2 separate regions of the Homo sapiens genome follow, and region 1 is linked to region 2. The links are contacts of gene promoters, found by promoter capture Hi-C in blood cells and fetal thymus (Javierre and others, 2016). All regions are on one chromosome and are shown on one strand. The core of a region is centred on a gene start or on the middle of the fragment in contact, and the rest is flanking DNA. Distances in the headings are between cores, read along the strand shown.

The links. The method cuts DNA at HindIII sites, captures the fragments that hold promoters and counts their contacts. A CHiCAGO score of 5 or more calls a contact.
Region 1: the fragment with the promoter of MYBPHL here is called in contact with a fragment that was not itself captured in region 2 in 1 of 17 cell types (M2 macrophages); the score reaches 5.1 in M2 macrophages.

Annotation. Positions count from the first base shown.
Region 1 is chr1:109,304,043-109,310,612 of GRCh38, forward strand. It overlaps MYBPHL (myosin binding protein H like), which reads right to left and starts at 2,969. Exons shown (of 9, transcript NM_001010985.3): 1 at 2,805-2,969. The coding sequence starts at 2,949. SORT1 (sortilin 1) reads right to left here. Exons shown (of 20, transcript NM_002959.7): 20 at 5,533-6,570. RefSeq lists enhancers at 2,487-3,226, 3,227-3,965. The HindIII fragment of the contact is 12,327 bases long and covers 684-6,570 here.
Region 2 is chr1:110,017,948-110,024,388 of GRCh38, forward strand. AHCYL1 (adenosylhomocysteinase like 1) reads left to right here. Exons shown (of 17, transcript NM_006621.7): 11 at 1-69; 12 at 426-520; 13 at 605-703; 14 at 1,104-1,172; 15 at 1,601-1,679; 16 at 2,784-2,904; 17 at 3,727-5,795. The coding sequence ends at 3,733. Among named protein-coding and RNA genes, the nearest start is that of STRIP1, 13 kb to the right of the region's middle. RefSeq lists an enhancer at 71-1,270. The HindIII fragment of the contact is 2,571 bases long and covers 2,702-5,272 here.

The sequences.
Region 1 (6,570 bases), core at 1,719-4,218, 710 kb before region 2:
GGAAGCCTGCATGCTTCCTACCCGAAGCACGTTCTATCCCCGTCCCTGCATTAGTTTTGGCACAGCATTTCTCACCATCTGACATATTAGATACTTTACTTGTTTATTTATTGTCTAGCTCCCTCCACTAGAATCTAACTTCCATGAGGGCAGTTATTTTTACCTATTTTGTTCATTTCTGTAATTCTGGCACCTAGAAGAGCGCCTGGCACATCATAGGCACAACCTAAATATTTGTGGAAGGAAGGAGGAGGAAAGGAAGGACGGAAGGAAGGAGGGAAGAAAGGTCACTCCTAGGCATGAGATTCAGTTTCCCATGCCTGGAAGACACAGAACAGTTCAGATTGAAAGAGAACACAGAGTCAGTTGGAGCGATGATGCTGAAGTCAGCAGATGGGCTCTTTCTCCTCCACCTCAGGGTCCCAGGGAACGCCTCTTTGCTGAGAGGCACACAGAGACCATCGTGAAGGGGAAATTGAATGCTTCTTCCAGGAGAGCTCCACTTCCGTGGAGCTCAGACTCTGAGGGGTCAGGATCTCCTATGGGAGCAGTGGGGGATTGGAGGAGGTCCTGACCCCGTGGTACTGCCCAGCAGGAGGCCGAGTGTCACATTGTCCATGGGAGGGATGCAGCTTGTTCCCCAGCCTCTCCCTGTTTTGGAAGCTCTTCTCTGGCCCCTGCCAAGCTTTGTCTCCAGGACACAGTACTCAGTGTAGTGCTGAGGACAGACATAGAACTGTTTACCAATGCTGGCCACCTACTCCTGCTTATTTAGCCATGTAGCAGGCTTGCCAAACTAAAAGCTCATTGTTGGCCATTTGCAGTTGGTTTTGATCTTGCAAATTAATTTCTATTTCTGATGCCTGCTCTAGTTCCCATGTTTTCACATGCTTCCTGTGATACTCAGTCCCAGAGCTCTCTGTAAGGAAGAGGAGTTAGGAGGAAGAAAGGCTTTGGAGCTCTCAGGGGGCTTAGGGGTCATCTAGTCCAGGCCCATGCATTGCACCCTGAAGGATCTTTGGTGGGGGTTTGGGGCTCTGTTGGCTCTCTGAACTTTTTTGTGTATTTTTCCAGGGGCAAGAGTCCACAGCTGGCATTAGATTTTCCTAGGGGTCCATATCCACCAAAAGGTTAAGACCCTGATTTGGTTCAACTCCTCAATTTACAGATGAGAAAATGGGAGTGGATTGACTTGCCTAGGGCCACAGAACAGAGCTAAGATTTGAACTCATGACTTCTTTGTTCCAAGTAGTTAACAGATGCACATATATTTTGCAAAGTATTCAAAGGTGTTCTTATTGCCAGTGACTTCTGGGATACCACTGGGTTGAGCCACTGGGTGCTAGTGGCCCTGAGGCCTGCAGTGTACAGAGCTGCTGCACACGAGAGGCTTTGGGCTGCATTTGCGGGCCCGTGACTGGGGGCTGTCAGGAGCTGGCTGCAGCCAGAGGGGAGAAGCATGGGGGAGATGAGCACTCTCCCTTGTGCTTTTGGGAAGACCAGTAGAGAGAGCTGAGGCGTCAGCAGTCCTGGCTCTCATTCTCCTGCTGCCTGTCACTTATTCTCTGGGCCTTTTAAGGGAAGAAACTGGTTTTCTGCCTCCATCACCCCAGCTTAATATATTTACACTAACTTTTGCTCCCTTCATCTTCAACGGGACAAACTTGGCCAGCTCTCTGCCCTTGACATTCAAATAGTTTCTGGAAACCTGGCCTCTCCCATGAGGATAAGAGGCAGACAGAGTCTGCTGCACAACCCTATGGAGGTAGAACGCAGCCTTCACCTCTCACTTGGAAATATTTGATCATTTATTTACATCTTAGTTTGGCCTCTTCCAAGGCACCCTGGATCATCTCAGCAATCCTTTCAACTACCCTGATAGGTAGATGTTATTAATCACCATTTTACAGAGTGAAAATGGAAACTGAGCAGTCCAGTGACTTGTCCAAGGTCACAGGGCTGTTAGAGGCGGCACTAGGAATTGAGCCTAGAGCTTTGCCTCCAAGTCTAGTATATCTTTTCCCCTGCCTCTTCCTGCCCTAGGAGTCCACGTGTTTCTTGATTGTGGTCTTTTCATCCTCTTAAGACTTTCAGGTGAGCGCCACGAAGTGGTTAGCTACAGAGGCCTCAGCCAGGGCATTCAGGGATGGGCGGCAGGAAGCTCGGGGTTGGAATTCCTCACTTGGGAACGCCTCTTTGCTGAGAGGCACACAGAGACCATCGTGAAGGGGAAATTGAATGCTTCTCCCAGGAGAGCTCCACTTCCGTGGAGCTCAGACTCTGAGGGGTCAGGATCTCCTATGGGAGCAGTGGGGGATTGGAGGAGGTCCTGACCCCGTGGTACTGCCCAGCAGGAGGCCGAGTGTCACTGTGCTGCCCCACTCTTAGCCTCCCCATTGCCATAGCATTTTATTTCCCTGTTCCTTCAGCAGACAGTCACTATCTCTTACCCCTCAGTCCCTTCCTGACTGGCCATTAGTATATCAGGTCTTCCCAGTCCCTATGACAATTTTTTAAAAGGTAAAAATATAAACAGATCATTTTTAGTCACTGTAAAGTGCCACCAACACCATCACTGACTTCTCAGCTAAAACACAAAAACTTAGCAGGGACATTTGAGCAGCAAGTTAGACTCCATCAAGGACAGGGGATGGGGGCTCTCACGAATGATCTCCAGCCTAATCACCAATCCTATAGAGTCTTTAGCTCTGCAGAAAACCTGAGGCGCCGTTCAGGAAGGTGGCGATGTCTTCCCCAACTCCCACCACCCGGCCTCCCCACCCTCCCCACCTGCCATGGGTCACCTTCTATAGGGGGCAGGAGCTGGGGAGTGGGGCTGCCAGCCCCCTGTCCAGGTGAAGCCTGGGGTGGTTCAGCATCCGCTGGGCTGGCTTCTTTCACCTTCAGCTTGGATCCTGCGGCCACCTCCGGAGCTGTGGCTGCCTCCATGCTGGGCCTTCCCAGAGGCTGAGCTCCAGCTCTAGATTTTCACTGCTGGTGATGAGGGAGGGGCTGAGCACCTGCTCCCAGGCTGGCCTCCCGGGTCCCAGCCACAGGGTTACGTAACTGGGCTGGCCCTCCCCACTCAGCTACGCCCAGCAGAAAGGCTGAAGTAGGGGTTGGGGGAGAGAGGAGGATCAGACAGCAGCCCAGAATAGCCCCAGGAGGACTGAGGTGTCCCTGTTATCTCGGGAGAGAGATGACACCCCCCACAGCACCAGGGAGGGAGAGCTTGAACACACCATCCAAAAGGGACCTCTAATTTCTGTAGGGAGGGTTGAGTGACATCTCTGCTCCTGACCTCCAGTTCATCCCGTGGGGCATTCAGGTCCCAAAGAAGGGGCCCAGGATTAGCTGACTCACAGCAACGCCTGAACTGCTCTTTCTCCCTCTGCTCCCACATTCAATGAATTGTAAAGTCTTATCAACTCGACCTTTACAGGGCCTGTCCCATCCTCCCCCGCTCCCCGGGGGCAGCGGGCACAGCGCAGTGGTAGGTGGAGACTGCACTCGCACTGGCTGCCCAGGTGCCACTTGGGGCTCTGTCACCAACTAGCTGTGTGACTCACAACACCTCACAGTCTCTCTTCAGTCTGTTTCCTCATCTGTAAAATGGAGATAATTATAACCATAGGGTCGTTGTGAGGATTAAAGAGGTAATCTCTGTAAAGTGCTTAGCAGAGTGTAGCCGACTAAGTGCTTGATAAATGTAAGCTATTTTTAGGTCAGGCCAGCACTTCCCCCTTTGAGAGCTGTCAATGGCTGCCTTGCCTATTAGATGAAGTACAAATAAAGGGAGAGGCAGCAGTGGTGGAGGGAGGCGAGCTCAGAGACCTGCGTGTGACTTCTGGCTGTACCACTCACTCACCAGCTGGGACTCTGGGCAAATGGCCGACTCGGAGTCTCAAGTCCCAGTCTATGAAACAAGGGATGATGCCATGATTGTGTTGAGGATAAAATGATACAATCTATAGGAAAGTGGCCAGCTCACAGCAGGTGCTAGTCACATACTACAGGTCCTACATGATTTCCAGACTTAGCAAACCATCTTTCTATACGTGTTGTACATGCCATGGACACTGCCACCTATCATACTCCTACCTTCTTATCTCCAGAAGCCAGCATCCCTCTGCATTTTAAAATGCTTTAATTTTAGAGCAGTTTGAGAGTCACGGCAAAGCTGAGTGGAAAGTATAGGGTTCCCACAGCCCCCTACTCACCCCTGTATTTTTTTCATGGAAAAAAAATGGGTGCAGTTGAACAAATGGACTGACTTCTTACTCATTTTTGCCTTCAATTTTGGGGTAATTGGTAAGATCCCAGGAGCCTGTGTTATCTTGGGGTGACAGAAGCTCAGCCTCTTTGTAACTGGTATAGGAGCTAAGGCCCAGGACAATCTGTTTATTGGGGCCTTGGATGGCCTATGGGGTTGATTTGGTTGGCAGAAGACTGGGTTTTTGCCATATCAGAACTAGCTTGAAGGTCTTTCTGAACTATTTTTCCTGCTTGACCCAGCCAAGGCCCCGTAAGTGTGGACAGTCTCCTAGCCAGGAGACCCCAAATACACCCCCTTTTACACAACACGTAACCCATCTTTTGGTGAGGAAATTGGCCCAGGCTGAGTCTTAGCCCTTTGTTGGAGCGAAGGTGTAAAGAATCAACTTTAAGATGCAGGTTCCTAAGGTTTGCCCATCAGAAAGTCTAATTCAATAGGTCTGGGGTGCTATCCAGAAATCTGCACCTAAAAAAACCAACCTAGTGACTCTGGCGCAGGAAATCTTGGAATACCATGTTAGATAGAATTCCTTCAAATAAAACAACGATCTTAGATAATGTCCTGGGGTAGGAACTCGCCCATCAGATGGGCCTCAGGAACAAGGGCTTTGCCCTGTCATCTTCAGACCAAGGTGCTGGAGTATTACATGGAATATTGCCCCAGGCTAGCAGGGTAGGATGGCTAACGGTTCCAGACGGGTGGGCAGGAACCTCTCTTAAATGCTTTGCAAGAGAGGAAGGCTGCAACTCTCCAAAGGTCCTTAAATGAAAGGGACAAGAAAGGGCCCGTAAGAACAGCAAGAGAAATGTAAGAGGAGCAGATGGGAAGTTACAAAGCTGAACTTCTCAGTGCCGCCAGGGGTCAAACCTGCTCAAAAGAACACAGAATTCAAGGAGTAATTATCTGTTGCTGTGTCCAGAAGGAAGAGTGTAGCAACTGAAACCTGTGAAGGTATGTGGGGTGGGTGCCTAGACTTTCTAGGAGGAAGAACAAGAAAGCTGGTCGTATACACACCCACGGGAGGAAGATCTGTATGAGCACTAAGAGCAAGAAAATGAAGAACAAGAAAATTAGGTAATTTATGGCTCACATTTTTGTGAGACGTTTTCCTCATAGATGACCGAATACATTTCATGCTATAAATGTACAGTCCTGGCTCTTTAAATGGCTTGTTCTCTGGTTGCTGGAGTCTGATTCTGAAGCAAGAAAACTGGAAAAAGTATATCAACAAACTGTAGCTTAGTCATTTCAGTAGGTCAGGTAACAAAGTCCAGTCTGTTTTATTTTTAACCCAAATATTCCAAATATACAGAAAATTACCAGTACAAAGTTAAACACATTCAGATTTATTTACACAATGCTAAAGAAATTTGAGTTTTATTTCCATTTTGTGGAATTTTATCATGGGGTCTGGCTTTAATGTGTAACTGACGTGGGTCACTGAAACTCGATTATCCCACCTCACATGCAATTTTCTGTCCTAAGGGAATAGAAAACTTGGGTTTTTAGGGCACATGCAGTAATGATCTTAATACTGCTTTACACTTTCGTGGGAAGGCAGCTGTCCCACAGCCTGGGGAAGGACCACATGCTCAGAAAGGGAACAAGAGAGAGGGCTGAACAACAGGCACATGGGGACCCTGAGCATTTCTGTGCACGAGGATAAGGAGAGTATGACCAAAACCCTCCTCCCTAGAGGTCCAAACACAGGAGGTGGGCCAAATCATCAGGGAACAGTCAGTCACCCGCTTGTGGCTGAGGGCATGCGGAGGATGAGAACTACATTAAGGATCTGGGGCATAGCAATAAATCATTACCATGTACACTATACAGTTTATATATGTATATATGTACACACACATATATATAAAGGTACAGATTAGTTTATGTTATTCCTTATAAACAAGTACACTTAAGAATGTACTGGTGTGAAGAAATGCATACTGCAAGTTGTTTCGAATTAATGTTCTGACTCTTGTTATTATAATGCAACCTAACCAAGAAATCAACATGCTCCTGCTATTTCAATGATGCTTCATGAGGGCAAGGCCTGGGCTCTGCTAGGGCAGGATGGTGCTCCTAGAGCTACCTGAGCTGGACAAACCCATGGCAGACAGAACAGAAAGTCTGGCACCTGCTGACTCCGGCCCTCCCTGTCACTTCATCACACAGCAAATCTTAAAACTTTGGTTTTTTCAAAGAACATTTAAGTCCATGTTCATTTTCCTGCTTCAGGGAAGATGGTAGCAAAGTTGAAAGCCGAATCCCTTCCTATTTTAGCACTTCCAAGTATC
Region 2 (6,441 bases), core at 2,737-5,236:
TGGATGGGTTCAGGGTGGTAAAGCTAAATGAAGTCATCCGGCAAGTCGATGTCGTAATAACTTGCACAGGTAAATAACTTGCATAGAGAAGTGTTTATTCAGAGGCTAAATCTTGAAAGTAGTCTGAGTGACTTTCATACAAAGGAGGTGAGACCTCTGTTCAGTATAAAGGTCTCAGAACTAGAATAAGCTATCAGAACCTTAACATGTTTTCCAGAGTAAAAAACTTTTTTCCCTGGTGACTTTTTATACTGCTTGATCTGAAGACCAGATAGCCTAAGGAGCGGTTATGCATGTCTTCTCTCAGAATGTCTACATGTTCTTTAATGCCAGCAAGCCTCTGGTCTCCTATGTTCTACCTGAAAGCCAGCCAGTACCTTTGTTGCCCGGCATCTCTTTCCTTAACCACCCATCTTTTCTTTTAGGAAATAAGAATGTAGTGACACGGGAGCACTTGGATCGCATGAAAAACAGTTGTATCGTATGCAATATGGGCCACTCCAACACAGAAATCGATGTGGTAAGGCTTCTCTCATTTGTTGCTAGGCATTTCTCTACTACCTTTCATTAATAACCATAGTCAACTGTGCTTTCTTCCTTTCAGACCAGCCTCCGCACTCCGGAGCTGACGTGGGAGCGAGTACGTTCTCAGGTGGACCATGTCATCTGGCCAGATGGCAAACGAGTTGTCCTCCTGGCAGAGGTACACACAGAGAAGGACCCTGGCAGAGCAGCACAAGCAGAGTAGTTAGATCTATGAGGGGGGAGGGGAGGGAAACAAATATTAGGCCTATGTTTCCCTGAATTTTATCTTTGGAGAGAGAGATATTTCACAAATTGGTCCCCAAAATAAAACCACTTTAAAAAAATCTACTTTTTACTAAGTAACACTATTTCCTAACCACAGCTGATTCTTTAACCTTTCAGACTCAGATGGATTTGCAGAAAATAGGAAAAAGCCTAGAGTCCTGATCTGGAACTGTAATTCTTCCTCTTCCAACTGAGTCTAGAGGGGTGTAAAGTCCTCTCCCGCTTTGGCTTGACTTGTATGCCATTGGAATCTGAGACAGAGCTCATCCCAGGGCTCTCTCTTACCTTTCCAGGGTCGTCTACTCAATTTGAGCTGCTCCACAGTTCCCACCTTTGTTCTGTCCATCACAGCCACAACACAGGTATGTGGCAAAATGCCTGCTTACACTGCACTGCAATTTGTGGAACTGGGCGTAGATCAGTTCCAGTGAGGGTGTACTGTACTATGTTCTCATCATCCTATTCTTTTTTGATGTAATAAATTGTGGAAACAGGTATTCTTAAGTATAGAAAAGAGTCACTAAGTCAGTATTCGTTGAATTGGCTGTTTTAGTTGAGAATATAATGTTCCAGCTTAGTTTTATTTGATTTGTTCTTTCGTTAGGAACTAAACAAAAACAACAAATCCTCTTAGGATGTGTGCTGCCCTTTAGTATAGGCAAAGTCCTAGGTACTGTGACTGTGGTAGATCACTGTAGTACTTACCCAAATGCTGTTTAACCTGGTTTTATTTTTATGTGCCTGTCTAAGAAATATTTTTGTGCTTTCTGGCCTTCTTTTCCCACCTTAGGCTTTGGCACTGATAGAACTCTATAATGCACCCGAGGGGCGATACAAGCAGGATGTGTACTTGCTTCCTAAGAAAATGGGTGAGTGAAAAACAGTGGAAATCTATGCAGACAGCTGCATAGTTTGGTAAAATGACTGCCATGAAAGGCATTGGATTTAGAGTCAGAGTTCCAATTCCTGTTCCTGTGCTTACTGGTTGTTTGACCTCAGGACAAGTTCTAATCTCTATGATCCTCAGTTTCTTGATTGGTAAAATGAAAATAATACTACATACATTGTAGAATTGTGTGAGAATCACAGCTAATGAGTAACAGTGCTTAACACAATGGTTTAGGGAGATGTTCTTACTCTAAGTAGCCTTATGAAGTTCAGTAAACTTCCCAGTGCAGCTGAGTACATACAGCCTTGGAACAAAATGAGAGAAACAAACACAGGTTTTATTGTCCATTTTCTGTGAGGATATGCAAACCATCCAATCTCTTGTAAGCAACCCATGCTGTGTTCATGTGACATAATACATCATCTCTAGTCCTTTGCCTTTCTGCACGGTGTACCCATCTCCCATATCTCCTTGGCTAGCCCAAATCCCTGACTTCTTAATGCTAAAATACTTCTTGCTCTCCTCTCCTCCAATAGCTTACTTCAGACTTTTTTTTCAGTGTATAATTATAAAAGGGAAGCTTATCTATGGAAAAGTAAAAATTCTGTGCCGACTACCTTAGAAATTCATGATCCTAAGATCCATGGATCTTATCCTAAATGAGTGTTATTGACACAGGGTCTTTCTAGCTTACTGGTGTCCACTTTGATTGCTAATTTGACTATAATCTAGTTAAGGAGGTTGCTGCAGGAAGGTAGGAGTAGCATGTGACATGTGGGCCACTGCAGGGAAGCCCCCTGCTTTGCCAGAGAAGGATAGAGAGGTAAAAGCCCACTCCCTTTTGTTACCCTGGTAAGTGGCTTTTCTGAACGCACTGTACATGTGCTGAGAGAAGCATCCTGCCCAGAAAGGCAGCTTTGAGGTTTTTTTTTTAATTAAGCAAATATTTCAAGTTGTGGATTCTTTCAGAGTTATTCCATCCCTTGTCTGCTTTCTTAAAAAAGCTTCAAATGAAAATGGGAAGTTATAACTTGAGAGACATTTTGAAAAGGAGTCTGCTCTCCTGCCACTTTGCTCTTCCTAGATGAATACGTTGCCAGCTTGCATCTGCCATCATTTGATGCCCACCTTACAGAGCTGACAGATGACCAAGCAAAATATCTGGGACTCAACAAAAATGGGCCATTCAAACCTAATTATTACAGGTAACCTGGGGAGAAGCAAGTGAAAAGCTCTTTTTCCCAGTATTAAACCAAGCAGGCTAGCCTGCTTCTGACATAAAGATCAAATGTTGTACCTGATTTTGAAGAATACAAGAAATCTGTTCCAGGCCAGGCACGGTGGCTCACGCCTGTAATCCCAGCACTTTGAGAGGCCTAGGCGGATGGATCACTTGAGGTCAGGAGTTCAAGACCAGCCTGGCCAACATGGCGAAACCCTATCTCTTAGCCGGGTGTGGTGGCGGGCACCTGTCATCCCAGTTACTCAGGTGGCTGAGGCACGAGAATCACTTGAACCTGGGAGGCGGAGGTTGCAGTGAGCTGGGATCATGCCACTGCACTCCAGCCTGGGTGATGGAGTGAGACTCTGTCTTAAAAACAAACAAACAAACAAAAAAACTGTTCCAGTTAACAAGGTAGATAGAGAAATTGTGGGAGATATCAGGGAGTTAGGGTTTTTTTGAAATTTTGGAGCCTGGGCCTCACCCTAAGAGATTCTGATATATTTGGTCTGCGATGGGACCAAATTTACAAAACATTATTTTGTAAAACCTCCCCAGATTATTGTAATGTTTAGTCAGGGTTGAAAAAACACTGACTCATTCCTGGGAACAGGCGGTAACACCAGAAATGGCATTGTCAGAGACCCTGTGGAAGAATAAGGGAGACTGGTGCCCTGGGGAATGACTGCAGGGATCCCACCCAGGCTGGGGAGGGGCCCTGGAGAAGGTGCTCTGTTTCCGATTGTTTTTTGGAATTCTCATATGGAAGACATAAGTGTTAACCAATCACTCTCTCTCTTTACAGATACTAATGGACCATACTACCAAGGACCAGTCCACCTGAACCACACACTCTAAAGAAATATTTTTTAAGATAACTTTTATTTTCTTCTTACTCCTTTCCTCTTGATTTTTTTCCTATAATTTCATTCTTGTTTTTTCATCTCATTATCCAAGTTCTGCAGACCACACAGGAACTTGCTTCATGGCTCTTTAGATGAAATAGAAGTTCAGGGTTCCTCACTCTAGTCACTAAAGAAGGATTTTACTCTCCCAGCCCAGAAAGGTGATTCTTTCTTTACCATTTCTGGGGACTTTAGTCTTAATTAGGTACCTTATTAACAGGAAATGCTAAGGTACCTTCTCTGTGGAACAATCTGCAATGTCTAAATCGCCTTAAAAGAGCCCATTTCTTAGCTGCTGAAATCAGTGCTCTTTCACTTCTTCAGAGAAGCAGGGATGGTACCTACCCGGCAGGTAGGTTAGATGTGGGTGGTGCATGTTAATTTCCCTTAGAAGTTCCAAGCCCTGTTTCCTGCGTAAAGGTGGTATGTCCAGTTCAGAGATGTGTATAATGAGCATGGCTTGTTAAGATCAGGAGGCCCACTTGGATTTATAGTATAGCCCTTCCTCCACTCCCACCAGACTTGCTCATTTTTCGAGTTTTTAACTAGACTACACTCTATTGAGTTTAATTTTGTCCTCTAGGATTTATTTCTGTTGTCCAAAAAAAAAAAAAAAGAAAAGAAAAATTAAGGAGAATTTTTGGTGTTAATGCTGAGGAATTGCTTGAGTGGTTAGTTGTTACCAATTTCTCTTTTGAACCTTTGGAGCTAAGGATGCTGAGTCTAGAGAAATGCTAGTCTCAAGCCCTGTTAAGTCCCTCTGTTTCTAGCCCGTAGTTCATAGCATCAGTGAACTGGAGCCACAACAGCAAATTCTATCAGCTGTGTACCATACAGCTTGTGCTGAAGGCGAATTTCTTGAGCCATTACTCAGTATAAAGCACTGAGTTCTATCTTTAGGATTTATCTTTAAGAGCAAATTTCTGGTCAGCTGTGCTTCTGCAACCTAAAATATTTAAAGGGAGGTAGGTGTGGGCAGGAGGAGGAATGATAAATTGGGCCAGGGCAAGAAAAATCTAGCTTCATATAATTTGTCTGGGACTATACACCCTATATAATGTTAGTTTTACAGAAGTAATATGACTTTTGATTGCTACATACCACAAAGAGTTTATGAACTGAGATCATAAAGGGCAACTGATGTGTGAAGAAAGTAGTCAGTACATCCTGGCTCATGCTCTGAAAGAATATCCAGAGAGGCTCTCTCAAAGATCAGGGAGATGTATTCCCATGCCATGCACCCTGCTTCCCAGCATTTCTGCATGGTCAAGTGAGCTTTATGCTCATGAGCTTTAAGTATATAATTATCCAGGATTTTAAATCCTCAACTTGTTCTAGCTTGTGATCCCTCAAAGTTGGGTCATACGTTAGTGCTAGATACTAGAAATTTTCACTTTTCCACTGATCAGAGAGACAGACATTAAAAACAAAAATAGAAGAAAGGAAAGCTTTCACCCTGCAGCTTCTTAGCAGGGAACAATTGTCTTGCCAAAACTTTTTTCCCTTTTCTCTCCCATTTTCTTTTACCCAATCCCTTCTTACTCCTTGCCAGTGTGACCATGCTTTCTTCTCTGTAGATGTTAACAGTTAAGGCCTATTTTCCTCGGGCACTTAACCAACCAATCAGAACACCACATCTGTTAGGGGAGGTAACCTGGCCAACAGTGTATCCATCACGTTAGCCCTGCTGGAGGGAAGGGACCCACATTCACCTGCCCTCTGACCTGCCCCTTGATCCCATATCTATTACCGTGTCCATAGGAATAATAGGTAAGGGCTCTGTCTCTGTCAAGCCATGTAACAAAGGACACTGTTAAAAAAAAAAAAAAGTCTGGCATCAGAGGGAGCATGTGGAGAGCAACTTGGGAAGAACAAGTTCATTTTGTATTGAATGATTTTTAATGAATGCAATATTAATCCTTGCAGATGAGCAATAATCATTAAAATCGATTAAAATGATAAGACCTTATTGGCAGTCCGTATGTGTCATTCTTTGTTAAACAGCAAAACTTCATTAGAACCTGTTTTCTAGGGTGTGACAAGTTATAGGTCAGTAGCATTTAATAGAGATTTGTTGAGGGCCTAATATATAGAGGCTGGATACAGGATTCTTCAAAGTAATACCTGAAGTTTTGTATGCCTGCTCTGTGCCAAGCACCGGGCCTGGGTACTTTCACTCCTAACTTCCTTCAGGAAGCAGACTTGCTGCTTAAGCCTCAGGGTTCCTCATTTGCATAGTCCTTCTAAGACCTAATTTCTGAAGAATGCCCCCAAAGTTATGTAAGCTTCAGCCTCCTCCCACACCTGTATCCATTTCTGAAGTGGTCTCAGTGTCTTTTTTTTTTTTTTTTCTCTTTATTTTTTTGAGACAAGGTCTCACTGTCACCCAGGTTGGAGTGCAGTGGCTTGATCTCAGCTCACTGCAACTTCTGCCTTCCGGGCTCAAGTGATCCTCCCACCTCAACCTCCCAAGTAGCTGGGACCACAGTGTCAGCTAATTGTTTGTATTTTTGGTAGAGATGGGGTTTCGCCATGAAATCTAGGCTGATCTCAAACTCCTGGGCTCAAGTGATCCTCCTGCCTCTGCCTCCCAAAGTGCTGGGATTACTGGCCAG